Linked DNA regions of Homo sapiens: all the other regions are linked to region 2. The links are contacts of gene promoters, found by promoter capture Hi-C in blood cells and fetal thymus (Javierre and others, 2016). All regions are on one chromosome and are shown on one strand. The core of a region is centred on a gene start or on the middle of the fragment in contact, and the rest is flanking DNA. Distances in the headings are between cores, read along the strand shown.

Evidence for each region. Contacts are between HindIII fragments. The CHiCAGO score rates a contact against its expected background, and 5 or more counts as called.
Region 1: a fragment that was not itself captured here is called in contact with the fragment with the promoter of MBD1 in region 2 in 9 of 17 cell types (total CD4 T cells, naive CD8 T cells, non-activated CD4 T cells and 6 more); the score reaches 10.7 in total CD4 T cells.
Region 3: a fragment that was not itself captured here is called in contact with the fragment with the promoter of MBD1 in region 2 in 1 of 17 cell types (activated CD4 T cells); the score reaches 6.5 in activated CD4 T cells.

Annotation. Positions count from the first base shown.
Region 1 is chr18:49,500,430-49,504,732 of GRCh38, forward strand. The region is part of intron 2 of LINC02837 (long intergenic non-protein coding RNA 2837); the gene reads left to right. Among named protein-coding and RNA genes, the nearest start is that of LINC02837, 3.2 kb to the left of the region's middle. RefSeq lists an enhancer at 1-391. The HindIII fragment of the contact is 1,708 bases long and covers 2,173-3,880 here.
Region 2 is chr18:50,279,337-50,283,409 of GRCh38, forward strand. MBD1 (methyl-CpG binding domain protein 1) reads right to left here and starts at 2,187. Exons shown (of 17, transcript NM_015846.4): 1 at 2,027-2,187; 2 at 547-681. The coding sequence starts at 656. It overlaps CXXC1 (CXXC finger protein 1), which reads right to left. Exons shown (of 15, transcript NM_014593.4): 13 at 3,929-4,025; 14 at 3,518-3,670; 15 at 3,011-3,403. The coding sequence ends at 3,257. RefSeq lists silencers at 1,920-1,999, 2,010-2,119 and enhancers at 2,265-2,845, 2,846-3,426. The HindIII fragment of the contact is 20,722 bases long and covers 1-4,073 here.
Region 3 is chr18:49,447,214-49,451,195 of GRCh38, forward strand. All of the region lies in intron 1 of DYM (dymeclin), which reads right to left. Among named protein-coding and RNA genes, the nearest start is that of DYM, 11 kb to the right of the region's middle. The HindIII fragment of the contact is 1,333 bases long and covers 1,997-3,329 here.

The sequences.
Region 1 (4,303 bases), core at 1,777-4,276, 780 kb before region 2:
TAGGAAAGGGTTTGTCAGTGTGGCACATTAAATCAGTTGGCCAGTATGCATTACTCTGACCATCTTCTTAGAAAGCAACGTCTTTGGGGATTTTCAGATGAGTGAATATTCAATGCTCTGTCTTTTAGCATTATCATCCACTTCCCCTGCCCCTCATAGAATTCTCTTTAGAGGATTGGCTCCTGGGCCTCCAGGAGAGCGGGCAGTAGGGTAGGGTGGTGGGAGGAGAGGAAAGTCTTAATCCCTTGCCAGGGATTTACTTTGTTCTTCTCAGTCGGAGCCTCCCGTACAATGCTGTTTTGAGCTTCACTTAGAAATTGGCTTTATTAGCTAGGAAAGGGGAATTCTTTTCACAACAATCGGAAAATGTAATCCCTTAGTCAGGCGGCTGGAGTCCTTTAATTCACCTCTCCGGACCTTGGGCTGCTGGCTGCTCCTCTCTGCCGCCTGGCTGTCTCTCCCTTACCTCCCAGAGTTAGGGTAATAGCTGACATTTTTCTTCACTAGGCTTTCCTAAGGGATTTCATTCCATTTGTGAGACACTTTAATTCCTGAAGCTGCAAAGTTTGCTTTTTATTACTATAGCTCTACTTATTCTGCATAATTTTATTTATTATTTGTTTATGTATTTATTTTTTGAGACAGAGTCTCGCTGTGTTGCCCAGGCTGGAGTGCAGTGGCGCCATCTCAGCTCACTGCAACCTCTGCCTCCTGGGTTCAAGCAATTCTCCTTCCTCAGTCTCCTGAGCAGCTGGGACTACAGGCACGTGCTACCACGCCCAGCTAAGTTTTGTATTTTTAGTAGAGACGAGGTTTCATCATATTGGCCAGGCTGGTCTCGAACTCCTGACCTTGTGATCCACCTGCCTCAGCCTCCCAAAGTGCTGGGATTACAGGCGTGAGCCACCACGCCTGGCTTATTCTGCATAATTTTTAAGAGTTGTGAATTGTTTTAAGATCAAATTTAAAAGTACATTTTCTTTCTTATCTTGTCATTAACTGATGTTGGGTATGTGTGTGTGCTTGTGATTTCCCTGGCTGGACCAGTGTATAACTTCAAAGAGGGCTGGTGCCTTGCCTTTAGTCTGCTGGATAGCACTCCTCCAGACCCTCCCTTTGCTGAGCAGCTCCGTGGACCTGTGCAAATCTCTACCCAGCTTTGTTGGACAACAAAATACCCTGGAGAATATCAAGCCCTTTAACATACCCAGTTTGTGCTCCCAGACGTAAGATCTCTTTGGCCATGTATGTGGGATTCCCATGAAGGAGAAGCTTCATTTCCAGCAAGAATCTGGCTTCCACCTAGACTTGGGAAACAGATACTGAAAAGCATATTGCTGATCAACTAGACAACCTACTTCCACTCTTGATTGCCCCTGTAATCCATCTAGAACAGCCAGAGCAATTTATTTATTAAAAAATTTAAAATTGGCCAGGTGCGGTGGCTCACGCTTGTATCCCCAGCACTTTGGGAGGCCGGGGTGGCAGATCACTTGAGGCCAGGAGTTAAGATCAGCCCGGCCAACATGGTGAAACCCTGTCTTTACTAAAAATAGAAAAAGTTGCCAGGCAAGATGCCTTACGCCTGTAATCCCAGCACTTTGGGAGGCCAAGGCAGGTGGATCACGAGGTCAGGAGATGGAGATTATCTTGGCTAACACGGTGAAACCCCATCTCTCTCTACTAAAAATACAAAAAATTAGCCGGGCATGGTGGCACACGCCTGTAGTCCCAGCTACTTGGGAGGCTGAGGCAGGAGCATGGCTTGAACCTGGGAGGCGGAGGTTGCAGTGAGCCGAGATCGCACCACTGCACTCCAGTCTGGGTGACAGAGCGAGTCTCTGTCTCAAAAAAAAAAAAGAAAAAGAAAAAAGAAAAGAAAAGAAAAAATTAGCCGGGCATGGTGGTGCGTGCCTGTAATCCCAGGTACTCGGGAGGCTGAGGCAGGAGAATCTCTTGAACCCGGGAGGCAGATGTTGCAGTGAGCCAAGATCGCACCATTGCACTCCAGCCTGGGTGACAGAGTGACTCCATCTCAATAAATAAATAAATAATAAGTAAAATTTTAAAATTATTCAAAAATTTAAGATTATTTATATGTGTTTTATAGAAAGTCAGATATAGCAGGTAAGCAGATTAAGAAAATAAAATCCTTATATTTCCAAAAGATTAAGCTTTAATATATCCTTCTAGTATAGTGTGAGATATATACTTCATGTGTGTATGTATATACATATATACTTACCAGGTGAAATTATACTGTACATGCTATTTCATAATCAGATTTTTTTCCAGTTAATCTCAATTTTACCATGTTGATACATTTTCATCTCTTCTAATACCTAACCTCAATTTCAGTTATCCCAGTTGTTCCCCAAATGTCCTTTCCAGTTGGTTTGTTCAAAGCAAGACCCGCCAGGCACACTGACTCACACCTGTAATCCCAGCACTTTGGGAAGCTGAGGCAGGCAGATCACTTGAGGCCAGGAGTTCGAAACCAGCTTGGCCAACATGGTGAATCCCTGTCTCTACTAAAAATAGAAAAAATTAGCAGGGTGTGGTGGCACACACCTGTAGTCCCAGCTACTCTGGAGGCTGAGGCATGTGAATTGCTTGAAGCTGGGAGACAGAGGTTGCAGTGAGTTGAGATCATGTCACTACACTCCAGCCTGGGTGACAGAGCAAGGCTCTGTCTCAAACAAACAAACAAACAAACAAACCAACCAACCAAAGCAGCCACACACACACAAAAAAACCAGAAACAAAGCAAGACCCAATCTAGGTCCCACATGACATCTGGTTGTTGTTTCTTTTTATTTTATTTTTGAGACAGAGGCTTGCTGTCACCCAAGCTAGAGTGTATTGGCGCGATCTCGGCTCACTGCAACCTCTGCCTCCGGGGTTCAAGTGATTCTCCTGCCTCAGCCTCCTGAGTAGCTGGGATTACAGTCGCCCACCATCACGCCTGGCTAATTTTTGTATTTTTAGTACAGACTGGGTTTCACTATGTTGGCCAGGTTGGTCTTGAACTCCTGACCTCAGGTGATCTGCCCGTCTCGGCTTTCCAAAGTGTTGGGATTACAGGCATGAGCCACCGTGCCTGGCCAGGTTGTTCTCTTTCATAATCAGTTTTAGAATCAGAAAATTTAACATTTACTATAATAATATTATCTAACCTAGAGACCATATTTAATTGCCGCCAATTTTCCCAACAATATCTTTTATAGAATTTTTTTTGGACGAAGAGCCAAATTCAGAATAAGGCATTGTGTTTGGTTGCCATGTCTCTTTATTTTTCTTTAATCTGAATAGCTTGGCATTCTTTGTAAAAAGAGCTTTCTCTTATTAACTGGGGTGATTTGGTTGTCCTAAAATACAGTTTCTAGAACTATGATAACTATAACCAGAAAATGTAATCTTTAAAAAATATAAACTATATAATATAACACTCCCCACTTCTCTCCAAAGCACTTCCCAGGTTAAAACCCTTGAAAGACTTCACATTTCACACCCAATAAAGTCCAAACTGCTTACTGTGCTGTGCAGGCTGATCTAGCTCCAGGCCCTCATTTCCTATACTTTTCCTCTGCACTGACTTTGCTCCAGCCACATTGGCTCCTTGCTGCTTCAGGGATACAGTCAACTCATTCCTGTCTTGATGCCTTTGCTTTTGCCCTTCCTTCCAATGATTTACAACTAGGTCTTCACGTGTTGGCTTCTTCCAGTCACTGAAGCCTTAACTCCTTCCCTGACACTCAGTCTATGGAGCTCCTCTCTGACATAATCTTGTTTTATTGTCTTCACAACATATCTCACTGAATGAAATTATCACATTTATTAGTTTTCTTCTTAAATTTCTATCTCCTTTTCAAAAAATGTAAGCTTCATGAAGACATGGTTCTTTTTTTTTTTTTTTTTTTTTTCTGAGACAGAGCCTTGCTCTGTCGCCCAGGCTGGAGTATAGTGGCGTGATCTTGGCCCACTGCAACCTCCGACTCCCGGGTTTCGATGATTCTCCTGCCTCAGGTTCCCCAGTAGCTGGGATTACCGGCGCATGCCACCACGGCTAATTTTTGTATTTTTAGTAGAGAGGGGGTTTCGCCATTTTGGCCAGGCTGGTCTCGAACTCCTGAGCTCAGGTGATCCGCCCACCTCGACCTTCCAAAGTGCTGGGATTACAGGCATGAGCAACTGTGCCTGGCAGAAGACATAGTTCTTGTCTGTTTTTTTTTCCTCTAGTGCCTAGAATAATTTTTTTGTTTATGATAAGTTCTCAACAAATATTTCTTGAATTACAACATAA
Region 2 (4,073 bases), core at 937-3,436:
TCTTTTTCTGGTTGTACCATAATTCTGATGCATAACATTGAACTTACAGCCAACAGCATTGTAACTCAGATAACCAGCAAAGTTTATCTGCCTTGTATTTTCTCCATAAAGCACGACATAGTCTTCTCACAGAACACTAAACAGCACCTCAGCACTATGCTTGGGGACCATTTTAAAAAGCAAAATCACCAAAAAGTACAAAAATTAGAAAAATGTGACACTAAACAGACCACGAAAAGGACACCTGTTTACAGTATTAAAGCTGAAAAGGGCTCCTTCAGCCTCAGCTAGAAATACATGCATTGAGTGACAGTTTTTCACTGCTCTGTACGTATTCTTGAATAATCACAAATGCACTGTGAGTAGTGACTTTTAAGTTACAAATAAATTTTATTAAGTAGGTGAAATTCAAACATAAAATCCGCTAATAAGGATTAACTGTATGTGCATAATTTAAACTTCATCCATAAATTTAACCACACCATTTGATTTTACCAGAATCAGGCTCTACCCCACTCCTGACTCTGCCCACTACCCACCCAGTACCTCTGGTAATAGGTGTCTGAGCGTCCACAGGTGGCCCCTGACTTGCGAAAGACTTCGCGGCGCTTCCAGCCAGGGCCCAGGGCCGGGCAGTCCAGCCAGTCCTCAGCCATGGAGGCCACAGGAAGCAGCAGTAGCCTGAAAGGGGGTGGAAGGGATGAGGGAAACTGAGGCTCTAGGAAGGGACAACACTGTGCCCCAGGCCACACAAATCACTGGTATCCATTAGTGCTTGCCCAAGCCCTAGGACCTGCCACAGGCAACCAGCCCATATATGGAAAAGAAACCCCTCATATTCTCACCCCATTCTTTCCTATTCTGGGCCTAGGATATCATCATTCCTCAACCCAAGGATCCCTGTTTCTTATTCTCAGTGTCCTAATCCCCTACTCCTCTCTATCCTCAGACTGACAACCCATCATTTCTCCTCACTGCCAATCCAGAAACTTTTCATCCTTCCCCCTCATTCCTCCCTGTCACTGACCTAAGGGCCTCTATCCCTCTATTTTATCACCCCAAGACCCCCATAGTCCCCATCCTCAGCCCCAAAGGGCCCCATTTCTCTTGCCCTCACTACTTGACTTCAGTAGTCTCTCATTCCCCCCTTCCTTGACCCAGGAGTTCCTAATTTCCCTCCTTCAGTGTTTTAACCACTCCATTCCTTCTCTGCCTGATGTCCTCTTATCCTGCTACCTCAGTGTTACAACCTCGACTTCCTCTGCGAGACACAACTGCTCCAACCCATAGCCTGAACAGCCCCTCATCTTTTCCATTCCTCACACTGGAAGCCTCCCATGCCTCCCCTTCCTCAGCCCAAGACCTCCCCCCTTATTTTTCTTCTCCTTCAATGTTCTCACCCACAATTTCTCCCTAGTCTGAGCTCCCAAACCTTCCTCTACAGCCAAAAAGTTCCCCACTTCTCCTCCTTACTGTTCTCATCCTCCATTCCTCCCTTATCATCCAGAGAGACCCTAATTTCTCCCCTCAGCATTCCGAACCCTCCTCCATTCTCTCTGTTCTTGTCCCGGGATCATGCCATCCCTAACTGTCACCATTCTGATCCCCTACTGCTCCTCGTCCTCTATATGGGGCCTCCTATTCCTCCCTTTCAGCATTCCAAAGCCTCTATTTCTCCTGTCATCAGCCTGAGGGCCCCTCATTTCTCCCTCTCAGAGTTCTGAACCCCCATTTCTCTCTCAACTTCAGATGCCCCGATGTCTCCCTTTAGCGTTCTGATCTCCACCATTCCTCTCCGTCCTCGTCCCAGGATCCCGACACTCCTACCTGTCAGAGTTCAGAGCTGCATTCCTTCCCGTCCTCAGCCTAAATCCCCCCATTTCTCCTCGTCAGTATTCCGACGCCGCCATTCCTCCCCCTTATCGGCCTGAGGGCCCTTCATTCCTCCCCGTCAGCGTTCTGAGCCACAATTCCTTCCCATCCTCCGCCTGAGCGCTCTCCACGTCCAGCCCCAAGGCTGTCTCACCAGTTTGGCACCAGGCCGGTATCTTCCGCCACTCTAGGCCCGTGGACCCATGGCGAGGGTCCCTCCTGCACCTCCCGCCTCGCCCTCCTCCCCTTCCTCCTCCTCCGCGGCCGCCTCCTCTGAAGCGGTAGCTGTCGCCTCCGCGGCTGTTCGTTGCTCCCGGAACCGGAAGTCCGCTGCCTGCCTCTCGGGCTCCGCCTCTGGCTAAGCACCTGCGCACTATTGCCTCGATGTCGCGTGCCCTTAATAGGGAGGCTCCCGCGCCTACGGGCCGGCGCTCCGCAGCGGTGCGCGCGCCCCCCTGCCGAGAGCCAGTTGCATCTGCGTGCTGACGTTCAACGACAGCTAACCCCTTCGAGGGACTGGCAGTTGCGGCTCTCCTCGCTGCCCATCTAGCTGGCGCATGCGCTTTCCAGCCTCAACCTGAAGGGAAGCGGTCGGGGAGGGCTTGCGCCTGCGCCCTCCCTTCCCTCCCGCGGTCTCCACAGCCGATACCGAACGCGGCAAGGAAGCTGCTTCGCGCCTGCGCACTCCCTGGCCCTGCCGGCGCTCTCCTCTCCCACCTCTCGCTGGGGTCTATCCTGTGTTCGTGGGTCCCTCCGAACATCAACCCCAGGGGGGGTCGTGTCCCGCTCCCTCCTCCCCGCCGAACAGCTGTGGGAGCGCGCGGGGCGGGGAAAGGGGCGGTGCCACACCGCAGGTAAACTGAGGCACGCGGGAGGGCGCGCCCCTGCAGGAGGCGGATCCCCAACGTGGGGCTTGTGGGGAAAAGGCGGGGCCTGGCGTCCACAGCGGACGACAGCTCTGGGTGGGAGACAGGAGCATGCATGGGCGGTGTCACCACACTGAAGGCGCGCTGCGTAGACCCTCTGCCCGTGGGAGGCTGGGAATGTGGGTCCCTGGGCTCTCGCGGGGTGCAGGCGCCCCCCATCTTATCCAGAAGTCTGGAACAGTTGCAACCGCAGCAATGTGGAGACAGCTTCCTTGGTTTCTTCAAAATTTTATTAACAAAACCCAGGGAGAGGAGGCAAGGATGAGTGGACTCCGCAGCCCCACCAGGCACTGAACATGTCGACGGGGACAGTCCCTCTGATAAAGGCAGATGGGCGGTCAACCGGTGGATGGGCACAGGGAGAACCGGAGAAACAGATGAGTGGAGGAACGGACACACGGGCACCGGGCGGCTCCCCCATCTGGAATGCAGGGTGTAAGGGGTCCGGGCCAGGAGGCTCAGCGGTCGGCACTGGAGCGCAGGTCGGTAGTGAGGGGATCGTGCTGGATCGTCTGGTGCAGCATCAGGGCCAGCAATCCCGCGCGGTTTGTCATGGCTGTGCGCACATTGCGCTCCTGCTCAAACAGCTCGTCCAGCTTGTACCACTGCCAAGGGAGCGGCAGGAGTCCTAAGCAGGAACACCTGCAGCCCCGCCTGCCCCGGCCACGTCCGACATGGAAACCTACCACATGCAGCACCAAAACCGCACAGAAACCTACCACACGCACGCGCTCCAAGTCCACTTCCGCACGCCGCAGCTTCTCCCAGCAGTAATGGCGATTGCACTGGCGCTTGGGCAGGCGGCAGAAGTCACCCGTGAGCTCAAAGACATCACGTACAAGGGGGCACCCGCATACCTCGTCAGCTGGCACCTGCAAGGAGGCCAGGTTGGGGGGATGAATAGCGGTGATAAGGGAGAATAGGAATGGGGGCTCAAGGAGGGAGAAGGAAAAGAATGGAGGGTTCAGGGAACGGTGAGGAGGCATGGAAAAGGAGGAATGGAGGGTGAAGCAGCAGGGAAGCTGAGAGGAAAAAGTGAAGGAAAAGTGAGGTGAGGAAGGAAGGGATGAATGTGGGACAGCGAGGCAGGGAGGAGGGGCAAAATGGGAGGAGCTGAGGGAAAACCTTACTTTGGGGTCCCGTGAGTGCTCGGGGCACAGCACCTGGAGCCGCTTACAGTATGTTTTGCTCTGAGGATTATACACATCACAGAAGAGTCGTGTGGCCCTGGGGATTTGGAGTAGAGAGGGCAGTAGAGGGAGGGAAGGGAGGTCC
Region 3 (3,982 bases), core at 1,413-3,912, 830 kb before region 2:
TTTAACATGGCTGGAACAGAAAAGGAATCAAAGCAGAAGCATAAGAGACCAGAAAGTACCTTTTTCGAACACGTCTCTTTCTCAAGGAGCTGCTCTCCTCTCTCCTTTCTTCTGTCTATTAAGCTTTCCACTCCTTAACCCACCCACATGTCCGTGTCCTAATTCTTTCTCGGCAGGCAACAACAAACCCTAGGGTATACACCCCAGATAGTGTAGCCACTTCATAATGGCAGCTTTGTCCGGGATACCAAGGTACAACATTCATAAGAACGGTAAGGGGAAGAGCGAACTCTAACTCTGTCCTTTCATTCCAAGGTTCTCGGCTTCCATTTTAGACCTTTCATGGAGGACTTAGCTGTCGTGTGGGGCTGGAAGAAGTCCTGGGGCAACTGAGGATTTCTGGCCGGCGCTACCCCCTGGTGTTATCCAAAGGCTTCTGGACCCCAGCCGCCAACCGCCCCAATGCGGTGTCGGCAACAGGATCTCCAACTTTCCTATTGTAATCTCCTCCTCTCCTGTTCGCAACCGTCATATCTCTTATCCTCTCTGTATGAAATGTGTGGGAAGTTTTATGGTTCAGGGAAGTAGTCTTGTTTGGTAAGATCAGGGAATGTCGTAGTAACAAGGCATATAGCTCAAGGGGAAGCGTCTTTGTGATTTTCTAAGAACAGGGCTCCCTGACCCCCCAACAGTGAGAATCTCTCTTTCTCTGCCCTTGGTCTGGAGAGCACATGGCATTTTCCAGGTCTCTCTCTGCCCTTGGTCTAGAGAGTATGTGGTGTTTCAAGGTCAACAGCGCCACCTAGTGAAATAGGAATCCTCTCCATGAAGCACACTGTCAGTCCAATGAAACATCCTAGCCTCCCAATTCTCTTTCCTTTTTGTGCCTCTCTACTAGAAACCAGGCTTTATGCTGGTTCTGTAAATGAGAAAACTCTGCCTTCAACAATTAGGGGTAAAATATTCCTCCAAAGCCAAAATTTAGTCTCAATACTGTCTCATCAGCAGGAAAATGGCCATTCAATCCCTAAGTTTTTTTAAGCCACCTATTCTGCCTTCAATTAGAGTAGTACTTAATTAGTAAGGGAATTTTAAGTTTGGAAGTTAACTGGAACCATTATCTAAGGGTAAATGCTTCAGCACAGGCCATAATAGCAGGATACAGAGTTCAATCTAGCACATCCCCTGCATTAAAGGGGCCTTGCCCAACTATTATGTAGTTTTTCTTGAAATCCATTTTTCAGGAAGCCAGGCAAGTCACACAAGTCTAGGAAGTTAAAGGGAAATCACAGGCAGAGGACTACAGCCACTTGGGTGAGCATGACTAGCCCCAGTGACTTAGTTCCTCTGGTTCCATGACTGGGGGTCACACTTGCAACCATGGGCAGCATGTTCAACAAGGTGCCTGGGACCCAGGAAACACAGGGGGAAAAAAGCAGGGGGGATGCCCCCACTGCTTCCTCTCCACCATGGGTCACACCAAAAGGAAGGAGACTAAAGGGCCACCTTTTTCTCTAAGTGGGTACCATCTTCATCCTGCACTCCCCTGGAGTGCATTCTGAAGCACAAGGATTTCTTTGACCCTGAAACTTTAAAAAGCAGCTCATTTTCTTTTGCACAGGGCATGGCCTTTTTACTAGACCTTTGCAAGCGTTACAGAATTAACCCAGCCCTTTTAGCAATCATATTGAGCAGGCCCAAAGAGAATAATTCCCCAAAATGAGAGAAGCAACTTCTGGGGAAATCATCTGAGGCAGCTATTGGGTGTCCCAGCCCTTCAAGTCCCCCTTATTTAGGGCCACCTCCAACCATACCACCAGTTCTTCCACCTCCACCATCTCCAAAATTTCCCACTCCCCACTTTCACTCTTACCTCTACAGGAAATGCCCAATGGAGGTGATGTCACTAGGGTTCAAGTTCCCTCCTCTTTGCAAGACCTTAGGCAAATAAAGGTGACTGAGGCCAATTTTCTGAAGACCCTGATAGGTATATAGAAGCTTTCCAAAATTTAACTCAGGTGTTTCACCTCTCATGAAGAGATTTTATGTTGCTTCTAAGCCAAACCCTAATTACAGCTGAAGAGCAGGCAGCAAAGAAATTGAAAGATAAGCAACGTTTCCTATAGTAGGCCTAAAACGAAAAGAGAAAATAGGGAAGGCAAAGAAATAAGAGAAACACAATTCCCAATAGGAAGAGAGGCGGTACCTCTTGACAACCCTAACTGGAATCCCCAGACTTTTCTATGGTGTTTTTCCTTCTTTCACAGTGTACAATGGTTCCTATCTCTTCCTGTATAATGTTCCTCCAAAGTAGGAAAAGTTAATTTCCCCAAACCTTAAAATGGTTGACTTAGAGTTGAGCTAATGGGAAGGGAACCCAGAAGCCTGACATGCTGGCAAAAGGGTAAAAGTTTTTTTACCAGTCAACATTTTGGCTTATCTCTTCCTGTGCAAACCAGTAACAAGGATAATAAGGATGATTGTTTATTCTCTGTAAAGTTTTAATTAATAAAAAAGAATTTGTGAGGTTGGTCTTAAGCTGTAACCAATCTGGTGTGCTTTGTGTGTCTTTCTGTAGCGTTCTGTCAAAAGAAAGGGTACCTTAGGTTAGGATGCAGGCCCAGGACCCCATAAGCCTGACTTTGTCTGGGTCCTAGACTCCACACCTGGTATATAATTAAAATCACTTACTAACCAGGTTTTTTACCTAAAGTAAAAGTTGCTGAGAGTTAACAGTGCAACATGTATTTGAGATCTCTAAAGTTTTATATGCAAGGCTTATAAAAACAGTGAAATGTGTTTTTTAGTAAAAGATTATAAGAAAGCATGAAAATATAAATTTTGCCCAGGGATAAGAGATTATCTTAAATTTAATAAGACAGAGCTAAAGGTTTAAGCAAGTTACAGGAAGACAAAAATTAATCTTGCAAAAATGTATAAACATTAACTAAATTCAAAAGGGTATTATATGGTCTTTTCCTAAATTGAGCATTGAAAGAAAAACACGGCAAGGCTGTCTTAAGACACTAATCTGCCGTTTAACAAAAGGGGTTGTAAAGGGTTTGTAAAGACTTCACCCCATGGTCATTGGTTAAGATTAGGTGAACTTTCCTATGAGGTTTTATCAAAAGGTTGTTTACAACTTTAATAAACTAATACAAGGGTAAAATTTGGCTTTAAACAGGATTTTCATGTAATAGTAAAGGATGATGAAAGATTTTTTCCTTTTGTGACATCATTTTGGCAAAATAAATAATGGCAATTTGGAATTCTATTTCATAACATCAAGTGTTTTAAACCTCTAACATTTAAAAGGCATCCCAAAATCAAGCTTCAAGTTTCAAAATTGTCCTTCCTGATGCCTGGCTTTCTGGATTGTTCAGAAGGCCCCTGAAACATCCAGAGAAGAGGTAAACAGGATTATCTGACATGTTTAGTCACATTAGAATTGCCAAAACGATGTCCAATCTTCTTTAAGTTATATTTTGGTGAATAATACTAATATATGTTCCAAAATTGTATGGGATTTCTAAAATTCTAATGTCTAAGTATATACTATCAATCATAATTAAGGTTAACTAAACTTTTTCCGTCATGTTTTTAACTGTAACCTGGAAATTTTGTCATGCACAGACAATTGTTGTTTTGCTTTGTTCCTTCTGAAAAGACAGTTTATAATCAAGCTATATTAAGGACTTTCAACAGGTGTCCTCAAATGCAGGTTTTTAACAGCTTTGAAGATTGTAACATTGGAAGAGAGAAAGAACGTACAGGACTCATGAACTGAAATGTTCACAAATATCAAGCAAAACAAGAATTGACTAAATGGACTACACTCAGAAAGCTAAAGCAATCTTTTTGACTTTTGCTTGGAATATTGCTGATCCTTGGTTTGTTTTTCAGAGTCAAGGAAACTTATTTTGAACTATTTACAGCCTTTAATAATTGAGTAAGGTATACTCCTGTGAACAAAACTTGAAGC